Linked DNA regions of Homo sapiens: region 2 is linked to region 1. The links are contacts of gene promoters, found by promoter capture Hi-C in blood cells and fetal thymus (Javierre and others, 2016). All regions are on one chromosome and are shown on one strand. The core of a region is centred on a gene start or on the middle of the fragment in contact, and the rest is flanking DNA. Distances in the headings are between cores, read along the strand shown.

The links. The method cuts DNA at HindIII sites, captures the fragments that hold promoters and counts their contacts. A CHiCAGO score of 5 or more calls a contact.
Region 2: a fragment that was not itself captured here is called in contact with the fragment with the promoter of LIMS1 in region 1 in 2 of 17 cell types (fetal thymus and total B cells); the score reaches 6.8 in fetal thymus.

What each region holds. Positions count from the first base shown.
Region 1 is chr2:108,528,715-108,535,879 of GRCh38, reverse strand. LIMS1 (LIM zinc finger domain containing 1) reads right to left here and starts at 1,410. Exons shown (of 10, transcript NM_001193483.3): 1 at 1,286-1,410. The coding sequence starts at 1,317. It overlaps GCC2-AS1 (GCC2 antisense RNA 1), which reads left to right and starts at 1,661. Exons shown (of 3, transcript NR_135290.1): 1 at 1,661-2,051. RefSeq lists silencers at 1,165-1,764, 2,253-2,547. The HindIII fragment of the contact is 7,547 bases long and covers 155-7,165 here.
Region 2 is chr2:109,617,024-109,624,283 of GRCh38, reverse strand. It overlaps SOWAHC (sosondowah ankyrin repeat domain family member C), which reads right to left. Exons shown (of 1, transcript NM_023016.4): 1 at 5,294-7,260. It also overlaps a transcript of RANBP2 not described here. Among named protein-coding and RNA genes, the nearest start is that of SOWAHC, 6.3 kb to the right of the region's middle. The HindIII fragment of the contact is 3,861 bases long and covers 3,221-7,081 here.

The sequences.
Region 1 (7,165 bases), core at 161-2,660:
CATGAAATACCATTTTTACGGGAAAGAACAACTGACAAACTAGGGTTATTTAAACCTGTATTGCCGGACACTTCCTTGAAACTGAACAAAGTGAGTCTGTCACTTTGAGGAAAACAATTGACAATATTTTGCTCCCAATGATAAAAAGCAAGCTTTCAACCGAAAATGAGAATTTTGGAAAACTTGTAAACACCACCTTGTATCTGACGGCTTTTAACATAAAGACTTTCCTAATGAAATCAATAGCGATGGTAACGAATGTTATTCGGCGCTATTAATGAAATGCGTCAGCTTGAGATCTGCCAAACTCAGTGAGCCAATATCTTCCAAACGACAAATATATGGTGTTACAATGGGTAACAGCTGCATTCAAACTGCAAGACAGACCAAGGAATTTTAACGTAACTGTGTGCAAAGGCCACTGACAGGAGCTTTAGCTGCATTCAAACTGCAAGACAGACCAAGGAATTTTAACGAAACTGTGTGAAAAGTCCGCTGACAGTAGCTTCAGATTCCACGTCCAAACCAGCCTTTGAGAAACTTCCACTTACGTAGTTTTGGTGTAGTAATAAAGAATACCCATAATTATCTGAAACAGCTATTAAGACAGTACTCACTTTTCCAACTACACATCTGTGTAAGATCAGATTTTCTTCATATAAAAACATACCGCAACAGACTGAACTGCAAAGGAGATGGGAGAACGTAGTTGTCTCTACTAAGTCAGACAACTCAAGAGATTCGCAAACTGTAAAGGACGCCAGTCGTCCCACGAACTCTTTTGTTTTAGCAAAACCCTATGTTGCATAAAAATGTGGTATGTACGTTAACATACCACGGATTTATTCAATGAGTTAATAGTAACTTCAGTGTCTCGGTTTTCCTTTCTAGTACAGTCTATGGAGATAGCCACCATTCCAGGTCCTCTAGTCCCAAGAGGGGTCCTGAGACCAAGACGTCTGCGACCCGCTGATCCCTACTGCTAGAAGATAAATGATTAGCTCGGCAAATACTGATTTGTCTTATGGAACTCTCGGAGCAGCGGGGCGGCGTCAGCGCCTGTGCCACCGCGGACACCCGGGAGTGAACAGCAGCCGTCTCCTCCGCGGGCCCGGACGCAGCCACGCCGCCACCCGAGCGCTGGGGGTCGGGGCTCCGGCCGACCGGGGGAGGCCGCGGGGAAAGCCCGGCCGCCCGCCCGCGCCAGGCCCGGCCCGGCCCGGCCCGAAGGCCCGCCGGGAGCTGCGGGGCGGACGTGGCGGGGGCCGCGCGGTGCGGCCCGTACCTGTGGGTCATCCCGGCCGCCACGCCCAGCATCTCTCCGCTTTCGGCCGCCGCCGTCTCTCAGCCCCTCGTCTCCCGGCGCCGCTCCAGCCGCGTCCTAGTCCCTCGCCGCCGCGGCCGGCTACTGGCGGGCCCGGAGCAGGAAGGGGAGGAAGGCCAGGGGCCGGCCGCGCGGGGGCGCGGGAGGGGGGGGAAGGCGAGGCGGGCCGCGCGGGAAGGCGGGGGAGGGGCGGGAGCGGCTGGGCAAGGAGGGGCGGGGACTGGCGGGGCGGGCGCCGAAGGGCGCGGACTGGAGAGGTAGGCGCGGGGGGGCGGGGCGTTGCGGGGCGGGGCGCGCATCAGACCCCGCCCCAACCCGTGGCTCGGGCCCGCCCCCATTTCAGCACCCCAGGCTAGTCTGGGAGGCTGGCGCAAACGCAGCGGGTGGCTGGGGTAGGGGCTCATTGGGAGCCCACGGAGCGCGGCGGCGGCTCGGGGGCCGAGTTCCCTACAACAAGGATGGCGGTGACGGGCGCAGGGAGCGGGGCCCGGCTCTCCTTGCCTCGAGGCTCCTCTGATTCCACTCGCGTGGCTGCGCGGCCCTGGCAGCGGCCTTCGTCCCGGGGGTGGGAGCTACACAGGGTTCCGCCCCGTCCTGGCGAGGACGCCTGAGGGGGCTCTGTGGTAAGGCTCTGTCGGGCAGGCCGGGCTTCCGGGAGGACCTGGTCTGGATCGGTCACCGCTGGGTGCCTGAGCTCCGCATGGAGCCTGCAGCCTTTGTTTAACTTGTGAGTTAAGAAAAGTTAACCTTTCTTGGAGAGTTTCCAGTCTTGCCTCTGCATCCTGTTCTTCCTTGCTAGCTCTCATTTTCTTCACCCATTCCGTCTATCAAAACCTGAAATTTTGGGGCCGGCGCAGTGGCTCACGCCTGTAATCCCAGCACTTTGGGAGGCTGAGGCAGGCGGATCACCTGAGGTCAGGAGTTCGAGACCAGCCTGACCAACATGGAGAAACCCCGTCTCTACTAAAAATACAAAATTAGCCGGGCGTGGTGGTGGCACATGCCTGTAATCCCAGCTACTCGAGAGGCTGAGGCAGGAGAATCGCTTGAACTTGGGAGGCGGAGCTTGTGGTGAGCTGGGAGATCGCGCCACTGCACTCCAGCCTAGGTAACAGGCTCCGTCCCAAAAAAAAAAAAAAAAAAAAGTGAAATCTCCAAAGGATTTAATAGATTTAATAGATAAGACAAGTTATTCATCCTGGGCATAAATGATCTCTCTCAGGATACCTGATTCTGTAACTATAGCTACTCTCTAGTAATAGAATGAAAACTTTGGTCTCCTGCCAGTCGAGGCATGTCGGAGGAAAACACTGGATCTATTTGATGTCCTCACATGAAAGTAAATTCCAAACAAAGCAAATAGTTAAATGTTCAAAAAACAAAAAAAAAAAAAAAAAAAAAGAGAGAGGTTATGAAAATACCAGAAGAAAACAAGGGAAAAAAACAAAAGTAAGGTTGGAGTGGTGAGAGACTTTTCAAAGAGCATATAAACCATAAAATTAAAAATTGATAAATGTAGGCCGGGCACGGTGACTCACGCGTGTAATCCCAGCACTTGGAGAGGCTGAGGTGAGTGGATCACCTGAGGTCAGGAGTTTGAGACCAGCCTGACCAACATGGTGAAACCCCGTCTCTAATAAAAATACAAAAATTTCACCGGTTGTGGTGGCGGGGTTCCTGTAATCCCAGCTACTTGGGAGGCTGAGGCAGGAGAATTACTTGAACCTGGGAGACAGAGGTTGCAGTGAGCCGAGATCGCGCCATTGCAGTCCAGCCTGGGCGACAGAGCAAGACTCTGTCTCTAAATAAATAAATAAAAATTGATAAATGTAACTACATAGAAATCTAAATTTTCTGCATAGCAAATAAATATAACAAACCCCAACCAAGAAAAATATTTGTAAAATGTATGACAAAAAGTTCTAAATTATTAAAAAAGTTCTAATTATTAAAAAAATCAGTACAAAAATGTTCAACTCAGAGAAAAACAGGTTTCTACAGAAAAATACAAATGATTTCTTAAAGTATCATAAAACAAAAATAAAATACAATTTTTCACAAATGCAAAGATGAAAAGTTTGACTATATATTGTTTTGATGAGGATATAGGGAAACCCTTTTTTCCTCCCCTAGAGGAGGCCTCTCTATGTTACCCACACTGGTCTTGAACTCTTGGACTTCAACTATCCTTTTGAATAGCAGGGTTTACGAGTGCACGTCAGCATGCCTGGCTAATTTATTGTTGATAGGAGTATAAATCCATACACGCTTTGTAAAGAACAAGTGGGCAATAGCTATCAATGTAAAATTCAGCTCTTCTTTGACCCAAGATATTCATATTTTGGAATTTATCTTACAAATGTATTCTTATATGTACACCAAAAGAATGTACAAATTTGGGCATGGTGGCTCACACCTGTAATCCCAGCACTTTTGGAGGTCGAAGCAGGAGGATCCCTTGAGGTTAGGAGTCCAAGACCAGCCTGGGAAGAAAAGGGAGACCCCCCTGCCTTGTCTCTACAAAAAAAAAAAATTAAAAATTAGCTGGGCATGGTGGCGTGCACCTGTAGTTCCAGCCAGCTATAATTGCACCACTGCACTGCAGCCTGGGTGACAGAGTGAGACCCCGATTCAAAAAAAAAAAAAAAAGAAAAAAGAAAGAACAAATTTTAAAGGTCCCTAGGCAACTATCTGTACACTAAATGACATCACTGAAATTTACTTTAAAATGTAGGGGTGGGGAATGTGGGTTGATAACTTGAAACTACCTCATAAATACATTACATTCTTTATATTAGCTTGTCTACTTTAGTGTATATGTGAACATTTCTGTAATAAAAAAGTTTTTTAAAATTGAAAATGGCCGCGCGGTGGCTCAGGCCTGTAATTCCAGCACTCTGGGAGGCCAAGGCAGACAGATCATGAGGTCAGGAGATTGAGACCGTCCTGGCTAACACGGTGAAACCCCGTCTCTACTAAAAAAAAAAAAAAAAAAATGCTGGGCATGATGGTGTGCGCCTGTAGTCCCAGCTACTTGGGAGGCTGAGGCAGGAGAATGGCGTGAATCCAGGAGGCGGAACTTGCAATGAGCCTGTAGCAGGATGAGCCGCAGACAAAACTCCTCAGACTCCGAGTTGAAGGAAGGGGTTTATCTGGCCGGGGGCATCAGCAAGTCTCCTGTCTCAAGGGCCAAGCACCCCGAGTGAGCAATTCCTGTCCTTTTTAAGGGCTCACAACTCTAAGGGGGTGTACGTGAGAGGGTCGTGATCGATTGAGCAAGCAGGGGGTACGTGAGTGGAGGCTGCATGCACCAGTAATTAGACCGGAACAAAACAGGATAGGGATTTTCACAGTGCTTTTCTATACAGTGTCTGTAATCTATAGATAACATAACTGATTAGGTCAGAGGTCGATCTTTAACTACCAGGCCTAGGGTGTGGGGCCGGGCTGTCTGCTTGTGGATTTCATTTCTGCCTTTTAGTTTTTACTTTTTCTTTCTTTAGAGGCAGAAATTGGGCATAAGACAATATGAGGGGTGGTCTCCTGCCTTATTCCTCCCCTTTGAGACTCTCACTCAATAGTAGGAGTTTTCACTTTCATTTTCTTATCTATGTCTTCCTGCAAGACAGATCGATAGTGATTCATTCATATAGTACACTTCTGCTGAAGCATTTTGGTGAACTAAGGTAGCGATGAAACTTTTTATCATTTGAAGAAGTACAGGTAGCAAACAAGGGAGCAGTAAGCAGGTTCCTATTACTATTATAACTTTTATTATAAGAGTTTTAAATCTTCGTAGTGCTGGGAACCATTTTCTAAACATGGCCTCAGGATCAAATCCATGCCACACTTGTACGGGCACATGTGTCAATTTTGTTATATCTGTAACTATGTCTTCAACTACTTGCCCTTGATTATCTATGTATAGGCAGTAATTAGTATGGTTAAATTTCCTACAGACCTCACCTTCAGCTGCTAGCAAGTAGTCGAGAGCTAATCTATTTCGATAGATAGCATTTCTCATCTGAGTTTATTGCCGGGCCAGAAGAGTCAAGGCTCTGCCAGTTTTATTAGTGGTTATTTTTAAGACAGCTTGTAACCGTATGATTCAGTTGATCATGCAAATGGGGGTCTGGTATCCTCACGAGCCGTCTTGTGCCTAAGTAGCAGGCCTATAATATTGCATGATTCTCTTAGGGGGCCATTTATCATGTTTTCAATTTCTTATAGCTATGCTTCTCTTTTCGTGGGAAGCATAGACAGGGAAGCCTAGGATTTCGCCTGTTTTTATGGGCAGTAGGAAGAAAGATGGTTTAATAGTGCCAGTAACACAACTACCTGCCTGCTGGTCGGGTAATTTGGCATAAGCTCTATGCCTACATATCCAGTACAATCTAGTGGGGGCTGTCCAGTCCCGGTGGGACTCCGGGTGGGTCCACACAGTTTGCAACTTTGGGAATTTACTAAATGGATTTCTCTCTGTGTGACTTGAACTCCACCAAGTGACTGTTTTTGTGGTGCCATTATACACTTTCTGTCTCAGACAACTAAGTCATCCTACGGGGTGAGTGAATTCTCTTCCTTCTCTAGCTATGCAATATTGTCCAATAATTGAGGCTTTTAGGACCTAGAAATTATCAGGGTGATTCTTTTGAGCTGGGAATTCATCAGGAACTTGGTCTGTAGGTACTAATTCTTGGGCTTCCTGTGGCCATTGATCTCCTATTACAGTTTCTCCACGTACATAACGTGAAGTGACATTGAGAGACTGGGTTACATGCTCGGCTAATTGCAAAAACAAATTTCTTGTTTTTCCTGGAATTTCTGGTACTGGCACATTTAGTTCATCATAGAAAGTTTAAAACACTGGCTTAGGAGAGCATTTATAAACTTCTCCTCGAACTAAGATGTTTACTTGAGGATCCAGTCCGGCCCCGTCGATTCTTAAGGTCACACTCTCCTCTTTTTTCCTGCGAGGATCAAGGGGATTGGTTATTACTAGCTCTAAGGGGTTACATTGTCCCTTAGTACAGGAAGGGCCATTTTTTCCTTTCTGAAGGTGGACTGGATCTTTTTCATTTTTTTTTCTAAGTGGCCTAAATGACACAAGACCAGTATTTATATTTATTTCCACACAGTCCTAATTTATGACAGATGTACTTATTTTCTGCCATATAGCCTCTTTTCTAATTAAGACAACCACACCTTATTCCTAACTTATTACTATTAATGACAGCGCAGACATTAACTTTTAAGGTGACTTGTTTGGGCACCCCTTTTTCTTCTGTTTTAGCTAACACTTTACTCGTATCGTTTATGAGCCCCCACCAGTCCTCAGTCCTTAATCTTATTTTAAAAATTGTGGTCATGGGAGGCTGAGATGGGTCATAACACACATCAGGTTGGTCATTTCCTGGGCTACATACCTTGTATAGAATAACATTATACAAACAAGTTCTTTTTAGAGTTCCAGTACACTTATAATAACCACAAAATAATAGGACCGCAGCAACTTTTTGTCCTACCTCAGTGACTTGTTGTATACCCTGGGAATAGTCCTCGGTCTGAGGAAGGTCAGTTGAAGTCCTTACTGTAAAAGTCTAAATTTTAAGGAAAATGAGTCCCGCGATGAGTTTTCTCATGCTTTGGCCATGCGTGGACCAGTCAGCTTCCGGGTGTGACTGGAGCAGGGTTTGTCGTCTTCTTCAGAGTCACTTTGCAGCGGTTGGTGAAGCTGCTCCTGTCCACGTACCGTTCACAGTCTACTGATGTTCAAGGATGGTCTCGGAGGTTGGGCCTGCTAGAATAAACTGAGTCTAACACGTCTACACAGTTATGTTC
Region 2 (7,260 bases), core at 3,902-6,401, 1.1 Mb before region 1:
TTTCTGAATCAATTTCTCAGGCTAGCTTTCAAAGCGCTCTGCCAGATGGCCTCTACCTGCTCCGCTCTGCTTGCCTCCTGCCACCCCTCCCTGGAGCACCACCTGAGTGAAGGTTATCTCAGAACAATTTTGTAAGATGGGCTGAACTTTGGTGTTTGTTTTTGTCTTAGCCTCAGGCCACCCTCCATGCTCCCTTGGCCTCTTTTGAAGAAGTGAGTTTGCAAAGCTCTGAGTCAACCGCAGACCCAGCTCCTTCCCAAGCTGTGCAGTGCACAGAAGGCACCTATCACGTTGTTGTAAAATTAAATGGGCACAAAGATGACATAGGGGAAGACCCCTGTGTTTTGCCAAAAACTCTCTTGAGCACCTCTTGGCTGTCCAGACCCCATCCTGGGCTCTCCTGGGTCCTCTCCCTTCTCCTTTCCTCTCCCCACCCCAAACCTACCAACCTTGTTTTTGGAGTTCTTTTAGGAGATTGATTTTGGCTTCCATGGTGGTATCCACCTTCTTGATAAAGGCATCATGGTTTTCTAGAGGTTGATTACGGACCAAAGCATTCTCTTTCCTGGACAGAATTCTCTCACAGCACCCACCTGGGTGCACACCTTAAGCCATGAGCCATTTCAAGGTCAGACATTGGGAAGAATAATCAGAGTGGGATAGCTTTTAGGCAAATTCCACCTGACCACACAGAAACTGGAGTCGCCTGCCAAAAGCCATCCATCGGGGTCACTCTGGGTTTTAGTCAGGGGAAGCTCCAGATAGGTCACCCTCTTAGAGATCCAAGAATTGTGGGGCAGAGTCCGGACCGCAGGAGGCCAGCTGGCAAGAAGAGCTGTTCATTCTGTTAACCCATAAACAGCCCCCGAGTACAAGCCTGCTCAGGATAGCTGTGTGGCTGAGATATCCCCTCTGGAGAGCAGTTGGACAGTGGGCAAGAAAACTGGTGGTGCACCAGAGAGGGACATGCAGGGGCACAGAGGAGGACACTGACAAGTGGCCGGGGGTGGGTATGGGCTCAAGGAAGAGGCCACTAGGGATTTACAGGCAGGGAAAATAGCACCCTTTGTAATAGATTCCGATAGAACAAACATAACACTCCCGCCTGTGCCAAAATGAACTATCTTTTTGTTGTTGTTGTTGTTGTTTTCTTTTTTGAGACAGAGTTTCACTCTGTTGCCCAGGCTGGAGTGCAATGGCACAATCTCAGCTCAGTGCAAGCTCTGCCTCCTGGGTTCAAGTGATTCTTCTTTCTCAGCCTCCCGAGTAGCTGGGATTACAGGCCTGTGCCACCACACCTGGCTAATTTGTGTAGTTTTAGTAGACACAGGGTTTCACCATGTTGGCCAGCTGGTCTCGAACTACTGACCTCAGGTGATCCACCTGCCTCAGCCTCCCAAATTGCTGGGATTACAGGCATGAGCCACTGTGCCCGGCCTCAAAATGAACTATCAAAATTCTTTTAGTGGGTTGCAAATTTATAAATGTATAGTACGAAAACCAGATGCCGTGTTGCTGGTTTTCTTCTACGCTGGCGTTTAATCTCATGATTATGTGGAAGTGGGCTAAGCCCTTCCGTTAATGCTTAAGTGCTTAGACAAGTGAAAGGGGACTGGACAGAGGGGAGGTGAGCCTAAACAAAGAAATATAACTACACCTCAAATATTTTAGCAGCTCCACCATTCTGAGCTGAAGAAATATTCTTTCCTGACCCAAATTAATTTGATCCTAGGTGACACTGGAAAATGCAAACCCCTAAAAATCCAGTTCTAACCCTACTGCTGTGAAGTAACAACAGAGTGTTCAAGTCATTATCTGTCTCAATCATTAATGCTTGTTTTTGGTTCTTAGTTTGCTCTCTTCTGCAATAGTATGAATTTCCTGTATCATTTGTACTTCATTAGGTGCTAGCCCCATAAACTTCAGGCCAGTTGACTGTCTCTTATGTTCCCAAAGAAGTGGTATTTCCTGTACCACTAGGGCTTCCCACAAACCTTAGAGCCAGTCTGCCTGAGCACAAAGCTGAACTGCTAAGAACTAGCTTTGTGACCTTGGGCAAGTAGCAGCTATTTGGGTTTTTGCATTTCAGTTCTCCATCAGTAGAAGTGAGGTACTAGAATCAGGGAAGGGGTATTATGAGAGTTAAACAGCTTGCTTTTTATAAAGTACTTGAAACCTCATCGGGTATATATAGTAAGCTTCCTGAAAGTCTTAGCCGTCTTAGTCTTAACCTTAGTCTTGCTGCCATGTCAGCACCTAGGTGATTCTAAACCTGGCTAAGCCAAAGGTGATTCTTTGCTCAATAGTGCTGAACTGACTACAACCAAATAATTCCCTCTTTATTTATTTATTTATTTATTTATTTATTTTTGAGATGGAGTCTCACTCTGTGGACCAGGCTGGAGTACAGTGGTGCAATCTCAGCTCACTGCAACCTCCGCCTCCCGGGTTAAAGAGATTATCCTGCCTCAGCCTCCCAAGCAGCTGGGATTACATGTGCCCACCACTATGCCTAGCTAATATTTTGTATTTTTAGTAGAGATGGGGTTTCATTATGTTGGCCAGGCTGGTCTCGAACTCCTAACCTCGTGATTCACCTGCCTTGGCCTCCCAAAGTGCTGGGATTACAGGTGTAGGCCACCGCACCTGGCCATCATTGCCTCTTAAATGCAAATTCAAAGATCCAACATCAATATCAGAAATTTCTGGACAAATCTCAAGAATGCTCAATTATGTTTCTAAACTATTATATTCAAAGTTTCTTAGAGATCCAGAAGACTATTCTAATGGAGGGCTCCCAGGTTCTTTGATCAGAATAGCATAAAGTTGGGTTAAAAAAAAAAGTGGCTCACACATGTAATCCCAGCACTTTTAGGAAGCCGAGGTGGGCAGATCACGAGGTCAGGAGATCGAGACCATCCTGGCCAACATGGTGAAACCCCGTCTCTATTAAAATACAAAAAATTATCTGGGCGTAGTGGCGCGCGACTGTAGTCCCAGCTACTCGGGAGGCTGAGGCAGGGAAATCGCTTGAACCGGAGAGGCAGAGGTTGCAGTGAGCCAAGATCACGCCACTGCACTCCAGCCTGGCAACAGAGCAAGACTCCATCTCAAAAAGAAAACAACAACAACAAACCAACAACTTATATGATTCTACTTTATACCACTGGCAAAGCACTGGTTAACTTTATCCTAAGTTAGGCTGCTTTTGGCCAAAGCTTTGGTCAGAATGAATATGGTTTAGAGCAGTGTTTCTTGAGACAGAACTGGTCACAAGTGTGCTTTAAAATGATCTATTTTAAATTTTCAGGTGCTCATGCAACCTCTGACACATTTCCAAAGGCTGAATGTTCTATCTCACAAGGCAGTCCATGGTATGTTTAAAATGATTATTAGAAAGTTCTCCATGTTAAACTAAACTTCATTTCCCTATTCATTTGCTCTTTGGGATTTCACAGAATAAGTAGTCATTTGTATACCTGACAGTACTTAGACTATTTAAGGCCAATTAGAATAATTTCTCCTACAGGTCTTGGACTTGAGTCAGCTTGTAAGGAAACTTTCTTTCTTTCTATTTTTTTTTTGAGACAGAGTCGCTGTGATGCCCAGGCTGGAGTGCAGTGGCACAATCTCAGCTCACTGCAACCTCCGCCTCCCGGGTTCAAGTGATTCTCCTGCCTTAGCCTCCCAAGTAGCTGGGATTACAGGCATGCACCACCATGCTCAGCTAATTTGTGTATTTTTTGTAGAGACTGGGTTTCACCATGTTGGCCAGGCTGGTCTTGAACTCCTGACCTCAGGCGATGCTCCTGCCTCGGCCTCCCAAAGTGCTGGGATTACATGCGTGAGCCACCACGCCCAGCAAAATTTTCTTATAATCAAATTTACTCTTGAAAATCTCTTAAATCGCTCACGAAGTACAGTTCTAATAAAGCTGATTTTATCTTCAGGATTGGAATAACTTGCTGTTCTTTTGGCTGAGCTGCAGATGAACTGATAGGCTGGTATTTAAGAGCCATGTTATATAAAAAAACTATTCACATAGCATGAATGCATGTAATTGAATTATCCATATTATGTAACATTATAAAATATTTAATGTTTTCCATTAAAAGACCCTTACTGAGTACCTTCAACATGCCAGGCACTGTGCAAGGGTAGAACATTTGTCACACATTCCTTACCAATGCATCGATGTGGAAAAATAGGCTATTAGTTAACAGAATAGGAAAGCTACTTACTGAGATGAAACTGACATTTAAAGAGAAGATTGAGAAAAAAAGTATAGTGTTCTTCATGGAAAAAGCAGGTAGTTATGTGAACCACATGACTTCTGTATCTTGAGAAACAAGTTTCTGTAGAGTCATCTTCCAACCCTCTAATATTCAGTGATTTATGAAGACTTGGGTGATCATTGAAGGAATACTGGTTTACAGCAAATTCCAAGTATTTAATCCTGGAATTAATCATGTAAGAAACTCCAAATAATGCTATTTACTTAGCAAAATAAAAATAATTTTTACTAGGAAAATTTCAAAAATATCTTTAAGTGAACTGGTTAATAAATCCTTTTAAGACATGTACTTCTAAGGAAAGAAGTTATTCTAGAAAAACAAACTACTTATCTAGTCTTTCAGTGATCCTGAAAAATATTTTATGGGTTATCATAAAACAAGAATAACCCCAGCAGCCATCACAGTGGGATCTCCCGGATAGAGCAATAGTGGGCGATTACACCAAAGGAGTACCACATCCCTTTGCCATTCAACAGAGTTGAATTTTGCTAAAAATACAGATCACAGGAAGCCTTGATGAGGTAATTAACTCTCAATGCTTCACAGAGGCTGAAAAATGAAAAACGGTATTCCTACACCTGTCTTGAAGTCAGCCCTGGGTAGGGCAGGTTTATGGCAGATGGTGTGTGCAAAACCCATACAGCTTTTTTTTAGGTAGTGGTGGAGGTATTACCTTCTCTCCAAGTTGATTCCTCCATCACTGGTGCCAAACTACAGCAGTTTTGCTAAAAATGTGGCAATTCAATGTGCAGAAAAGATAACGTTGTGGGAAAGCCCTGACTCTTATAATCTTACTAACAGCTTTTTACTGTGTGACCCTGAACAACCATTAACCTCTATTTTCTTATCTGTAAGTCAACAATATATGGCCCATAATCTTAAGGGATAGGAAAAGGGTCAAATAAACTGAAACTTCAAAAAGCATTTTGTGAACTGTAAAACACAGTATATGTAAAAAGTCTAAAGGACGACAGAAACTTAGACAATTCAGAGAAAAATTCTACTGTGAACATTTTATTTTCACAAAACAAACTTTACAGATTTTACAATCTCCCAAATTTCACTTATTTAAAAATAGGAGAGACAAGGCAACCTAGACTCCAAGATTGCAGGCGTGAAAAAACTAGTACCAGATATTCAAGTTATATATGCAAACTGCATTTTATATACCATGAAAGTGAAATGTGACAAACACTCACTAGTTTCAAGTGTACCTTATAAGAAACACATGGACATACTTGGGTTTTTTAACCACATAGTCTCATATCAATAAACATCTAAGTATCTGACATGTATTTTTCCATTAAAGGTAGGCACAACTCTATGAATATCAAATTATATCAATCATTTGCTTTTTATAATCTTGACTGGAAACTGAAAAATAAGAGGAATGTAAAGTTAAGTAGCCGAAAATGCTACTTACTGCACAAAAGCACATCATGAAAAGGAATGCTAGAAGTAGTTCTCCTCAGGAATGGGTTTTTGAAAATTTAAAATATTATTTTATCAGAAAAGTTAAAGCCTTCAGTGGGAAAACCATGGTAAATGACATATTGACTCAATCTCTAAAGCCCTGGCAAATTATAGATTTTGTGCAATTAGTGACCAACATATACATTTAAGAGATAATACTGACTGTTGACCAGAACCTTCTGATGGTTCTGAAGCATCTGCTCTTTAGAGTTACTTCAGCTTTACATGTCTATGAAATTTAAGATTCCTCAATGGGATGTTATAGCTTATTCTGCACTAGATACAAGTAATATGTATAGATTTAGAACAAATGACTACTTTTCACCTTCCAGGAGCCTGTTTTTATTTATACAAAATTAGATTGGTTTTTCACCCACATGTATGCATAAGTGCTTCTCAAATTTACACCGTTCATATCTGAAATCCCACAATAAATGCAAATAAATGGATACTAGTTTATATATTTCATATTTTCATTCATCTTTTTTTTTTTTTTTTTTGAGACAGAGTCTCCGTTGCCCAGGCTGGAGTGCAGTGTCGTGATCTTGGCTCAACTGCAACCTCCACCTCTCAGGTTTAAGTGATTCTCATGCCTCAGCCTCCTAAGTAGCTGGGACTACAGGCACGCACCACCACGCTCGGCTAATTTTTGTATTTTTAGTAGAGACAGGTTTTCACCATGTTGGCCAGGCTGGTTTCAAACTCCTGGCCTCAAGTGATCCACCTGCCTCGGCCTCCCAAAGTGCTGGGATTACAGGCATGAGCCACCATGCCTGGCCTTTCATCCATCTTTAAACAAATTCAATGACCATCTAGAGACAGATGTGACCAAAGTGTTACAAATTTCTATGCATTTTCTATGAATTGCTCTGTGCAGTTCACACATGGGTTCATTCACCCCGCAGGCTGTGAACTTCCTTATCCTGTAGGCTGCAGGTACTTAGGTTTCAGCAACTACGCGACCCAAAAGACTAAAGGAGGACTTGTTTAAATTAGTCCCTCTCAAAAATTGTTTCCAATCTTATAACAAACAGATTTAATATGCTTGTGGGTTAAATTTTAAAGTAGTTATGAAGCCATTTACTCTAATATAAATGAATGAAATGTAATTAAGAACCATACTTAAACGAGTACTTAATTTTAATGAATGGTATTTTTCATTTATATACAAAGGAATAGCCAGCAGCATTTAAATATAGAAATAGTCCCATCTCTTCTCTATTCCCTTTTATAAAGTGCCATTTTAATTGGGTAGATTTACTACCCAGATTTTCAGTAACTACAGGATAGGTATCTAATTGTCAAGAAAAGCTTGGAAAATTAAGTTTAGCATTTTAAACATTTGTAAAACATTGCTACAAGTCATAGAGACTACCAATGTATTAAAATAAAAAGTGTACCTTACATAAGAATCATTAAGTTGGTTTAATAATTACTTCACAGAAACATGGGCTCATGAATACTTAGGCCAATTTGTGCTAATTATTTAAAC